2 separate regions of the Homo sapiens genome follow, and region 2 is linked to region 1. The links are contacts of gene promoters, found by promoter capture Hi-C in blood cells and fetal thymus (Javierre and others, 2016). All regions are on one chromosome and are shown on one strand. Each heading gives the region's core, a stretch centred on a gene start or on the middle of the fragment in contact. The rest is flanking DNA. Distances are from core to core; before and after follow the strand shown.

The links. Contacts are between HindIII fragments. The CHiCAGO score rates a contact against its expected background, and 5 or more counts as called.
Region 2: a contact is called between the fragment with the promoter of CDKL2 here and the fragment with the promoter of UBA6 in region 1, in 1 of 17 cell types (fetal thymus). The highest score is 6.7, in fetal thymus.

The regions. Positions count from the first base shown.
Region 1 is chr4:67,699,860-67,702,457 of GRCh38, forward strand. UBA6 (ubiquitin like modifier activating enzyme 6) reads right to left here and starts at 1,296. Exons shown (of 33, transcript NM_018227.6): 1 at 1,190-1,296. The coding sequence starts at 1,260. UBA6-DT (UBA6 divergent transcript) reads left to right here and starts at 1,419. Exons shown (of 2, transcript NR_015439.1): 1 at 1,419-1,625. RefSeq lists silencers at 1,020-1,189, 1,320-1,389. The HindIII fragment of the contact is 4,018 bases long and covers 1-2,230 here.
Region 2 is chr4:75,629,233-75,631,830 of GRCh38, forward strand. CDKL2 (cyclin dependent kinase like 2) reads right to left here and starts at 1,296. Exons shown (of 14, transcript NM_001330724.2): 1 at 810-1,296. The HindIII fragment of the contact is 1,829 bases long and covers 786-2,598 here.

The DNA.
Region 1 (2,598 bases), core at 46-2,545:
TCCCAAAGCGCTGGGATTGCAAGCGTTTGAGCCACTGCGCCCGGCCAAAGTTTTTTATTATCTACTTTCCTATCATTTTATCCCTAGTACACTTTCACTTGCTGTTTTCCTTGCATGGCGGGGGCAATAGGCCTGGTGGGTAAATCTGAATAAAAACGAGAACAGCTGCAGTCTAACTAGCTCTGCCACTTAATGGCGTGACTGGCCCTTTTCAGAAAGTTGTGCCTCACTGGAATGTTTCAAAAATATGTAAAAATAATATGATCTATAAGACAATCAAAAACGCTTCAAATAAGGCGCGGGTTATATTACATAATATCCCTCCACTCTGGCAGTGTTGGCAATGGCAGACAACACCATGAAACTGAAAGCATCCCTTCAGTCTGAAACTGGCGAAAAGGCTACAGGTTTACAAAGTCTCACATCAGCTGAAAATAATACATCCATCAATTCTATCTTTGGCATGGTGTATTCTGACAGTGGTGGATAGAATGTAACCACTTGCTTTATTAATTATGAGATGATTGAAAGAGGAACTACTAACCAAGAAATTGGTAAAGGCCTAGCACAAATATTTTCCCCCTAATTTTACAGGGGCGGGAAAGACCTGAAGAACTTCAAAACCAAGTGGGAAATAAGAATGGGTAACTTGTGTATTTTTTTTTCCTGGCTTTTTTTTTTTCCTTCTTCCGAAGTCAACAAAGGCCTCAGGGTGTCCAGATTGCTACTGATTCATTCTTACCAAGTTCCTTCTGGTAATAGTTTTCAAAAGAGGATCTCAGTGGAGGTGCACAGTGGCGCTCCTAGCTTTCTTTTTACGGAAAGGAGGAAAGGTGCTTGGCACCAGTCGGGGAAGCTCACGCCAAGTGACCGAGACCAGAACTCGCTCTCGACCGGAGCCCCCCAAGTCTGGTGACTTGGAGGAAGGAGGATCCCGAATCCCAGCCAGAACTGAGAAAGCCCTCAAAGGTGCGGAAAGGGGACTTTTCCCTCAGGAAAGCCGGCAACAGCAGAGGCCCTAGCCCACGTCGCCACACCCACTCCGCGCGCGCCCCTCGCCTCCCAGGGCCGGCTCTGCTCGGCCCCGCGGCCTCTCGGGCGCCCCCAGCCCGCCGGAAAGAAAGAAGCAGAAACCCGGAGCCTGGGTCCCACCCGCGACCCCTCACCTTCGCCCTTCTCGTCCTCTCACCTGCCAGTCCCCCAGGAAGAACAGGACGCCTCTTCCCCCTGATGGGCGGCCACAGGCTCGGATCCTTCCATTGCCGCCTGAGACACCGCCGCCGGCTACTGGAAGGTAGGAAGGGGCGGGACCGTGGGGGGGTCAAGGGGCGGGCGGAGACGTCATCAGAGGGGGCGGGCCTGGGGAAGCTAGGAGCCCGGCAGCGCCTTCCCGTCAACCCTAGGGGCGTCCTGGTTTCCGGTTTGGGTGTGGCCGCATGGCGTGCTGTGGTGCAGGTGGCCGAAGGGGGCGTTACTGTTGCGACTGGCATCCGCATCCGGCAGATGTAGATGGAACCAAAGTCCAGAAGTTACGCGTCACCCTTGCTCTACAGCCAAACATGCAGGACTCTAGTAACCCGCGAAATGATGGGATAGCGTTGCAAATCCTTAAAAGAGTCTTAACGGTAAGAAGAGGAAACAGCTTTATTTTATAAATAAACTGAAGGCTGCTAATAGCTCCAGATTGTCAGTGAGGGGATACCACTTAAAGATGTTATACATTTAATAAATAATTTTGGGAGTCCACTACATGTGAGGCGCTGCCTCAGATTTAATAGAATCATGTGACTTTTAGTGCCATAGATGTCGTTAGATCATCCAGTTTGGTCCCTTAAATTTGTGGGTAAGGGAAAGGAACTTCCGGTCAGTGCAAGTGACTTGGTCAAGGTTATAGAGCTAGTCACTGTTAGATTACCAGAACACATATCTAAAAAGTTCTCATATAATTCTTTTTCATTTACTTCCGTGTCACCTTTCTTAGAAAGCAAAAATGAGTTGGACACAATAACATTAGGATTTGTCTTTCACTAAATAACACTGTATATTTGAATAAACATCTGCAGGATTTTTAAAATTAGCATATACTTTGGGTATTATGTAATTTTCTGTGATGTATCATATTTTTAATTAGAAATTTTTCCTCTCATATGGAGATGAGGGTCCAGGCAAAACTGTATTATCCTTCGTGCCCTCTATTCTCTTCAAAATTGCACATCTTAAAATACCTGGAAGCTTTATGTTGCTCACCTATAGCATTATCCGTGTTCCTCAATCCAGTTGTGAACCTTTTCCACATTAAAATGTTCTTGATCTGTGTTCTATTCTTTCAAGGCTCTGCTCTAGCACTAAGATAATGCTACAGGACTGAAGATAATGAAAAAGATTGAAGAAAGCAGAAACAGAACAAAAATCAGATTATTTCAAAGTTTCTTTCCTTGTAAAGGTTAAAACAGAGCATACTTCCTTATTATGCCCACTAGGTTAACTAGAATCTCCTGTTTTTTTAAAAAAAACTGGCTCATTTTTTCAAAATCCACTTTAATTACATGGTGCTTAGCACAAGCAACTCCATTCTGGTTTGATCTGATGGGGCCTAGT
Region 2 (2,598 bases), core at 46-2,545, 7.9 Mb after region 1:
TTTGTAATTGATGTCCTCAATATTTGAAAGCACAAAGTGAACCAAAAAAAATGACTTTAAGCATGTCTGAGGTGTTCTGAAGCATATCCCAAGCTAACATTAATGCAAGTTGACTGCTTCAAGTTTATTCTCCCAACCAATTGCATATCTGGACACACCACATTGAACACACCTGCTTTTTCAAGTGACACTGTCCACAAATACTTTAAAAGTATCACAGCCTACAAAGCCTCCTGTTTCCTGAAACAGTTACTCATAAACTATAACTTCTCATGCCTTCTACTCTTGAACGGAAAGGTAATACAAACGAAAAAGAAACCTGGCCAATGGGCAAGGTGTTATTTCTGGATGGTTCTAAAAGCAACAATTTTGATAAAAATATTTGGAGAATGCTAATTTTTTATTTTGTTTAAGACAGATTAAAGGGCCGGGAGCGGTGGCTCACGCCTGTAATCCCAACACTTTGGGAGGCCGAGGCGGGCGGATCACCTGAGGTTGCGAGTTCGAGACCAGCCTAACCAACATGGAGAAACCCTGTCTCTACTAAAAATACAAACTTAGCCGGGCGTGGTGGTGATGCCTGTAATCCCAGCTACTTGGGAGGCTGAGGCAGGATAATCGCTTGAACCCAGGAGGCAGAGGTTGCGGTGAGCCGAGACCATGCCATTGCACTCCAGCCTGGGCAACAAGAGTGAAACTCCGTCTCAAAAAAAAAAAAAAAAAAAAAAAAAAAAAAAAAAAAAAAAGATTGAAATCTTTTATAGATCAAAGAACGAGATAATAGAAGCTTTAAAACGTACTATACTTACCGTTTCTTCAATCCGTTCGCATAGAAAGACCCAAAGGTTTTCAACTTGGAAACAAATTTGAGGTGAAATGCATATGGTTCGCAGGTCCAAAAGATGCTGCCTAGCAAACTAGCAATTCCAGCGCTGTTGTGATTTCTTCTGCGGACGCAGTCACGAGTCCAGGGCGAAGCAGGCAGGGAGGCAGGTGGGCCTCGGTCCGCCGCAAGCTCACACTTAGGAGGACCACGGGCCGCATGCTGTCGTCGTCAAGGCAACGACCTCACTCTGTCCCCAACCATAGGCACAAAGTCTTGGGAGACAGATACGGCCCAGGTCAGAATGCGTTCACGGCAGGCACCAACACCTGTGAAGGCCAAGGGCTAGAGAGCAATTAGCTGGGTGAGAGGCACCACCTCCCAGCTCGTAAGGCGCCCAGTACCTGGAGCCTGGGAACCTGCACCGCTCCAACTACCCCTGGGCGAAGGCGTTGGCCGCGGAGCTGCAAGGGGGGGCGGTTTCTCACCCGCCCCGAGAGCGCCAGGCCTCCCTTCTTCTGATTGGCCGAGCCGAGTCGTCACGAGCCATGATTGGCTCAGGGCCAACCACCCCGCCCCTTCACCTAGGGCTCGGCCCAGGTTCTGCTCCCTGACACGCAGAGGCCCTGCGTCCCCACACGCCTTGGTTCTCGTCAGGAGGCGCCTTTCTGCCTTCCCCAGCGGGAGGAGGCGATTGTGATGCCCACGCGAAGGGTAAAGGTGGCGGTTATGTAGGACTGCGAAGACTATGCAAAATGCGATACGGTTTCCCTCATAGCATCGCCGCTGGGGCAGGGGCGGGCGCCGGGCGCCCTGAGTCGCGTAGGCGCGGCCTGACCGGGATTCCATGCTTCCTTTCTGTTCTGGGCGGTGGGGCCAGTGTGAGCCAGGTAGGAGATAACGGTGACAGTTTAGGAGGTGATGATTAGTAGGCGAGGCAAGGTGGAAGAAGGTAGGTGATGACAGACCTGACGTTAGGAGGGACCTTGGGAAGGCCAGTCTGGCCATTGAAAGTGAGGGAAAACACTGAGATGGAGGAAGGGGAAGAGAGGGCATGAGTGGAATGGGAAAGCGCTGGGATGGCTGGGGATCTGGAGGACACGCACAACACCCGCGTATGGCAGCCAAATGGGGTGGAGTTAGGGCTTGCGATAAAACTTGCCTTAAATGCAAAAATGCAGCTCAATCCACGACTGAGCAAGACTGGTAGGTCAGAATCATGCACAGGCTTAAATCACACAGGAACAGAGCTTACCCCATTTTCAAAGAATCTGAGGCAGCGAGGAGGCCATAAGGCCAGTAAAATAACACTTTCAATCATGATAACTAAATGTTCATGATCATTTTGGTCTCGAAACTACTTTGATTTAGGGAATAGAGTGTCCTGGATAGACAAATGTCTACCATATACCCTAGTCAATATTAAGGTATTAATCATTAATGTTAAGGTATTGATTCCTTCTTGTACATTAAGAAATAGACATTCTTTTTATAGTCTTTTGTGAGTTTGGTTAGTTTGCATTAATCTCCCAGTGGTTAATTACCTTGGTCAGACTGCTTAAAATCTAGTTCCTGAACCTGTAATATTGAGAACCAGACCTGAGGCCTAGTTATGGAAAGAATAGAATTATTTGGTCAATTCAAGATGTGACTCTTAGTGTAGCAATTAGCTCTGTCCTTAGCTGTGTCCAAGTTGCGAGAAGCCCTGTCCCATTTGGTACCTCTATAGGCTATAAGAGAATCTGATGAACTTCTTTTATATGGGGGTAGATTCA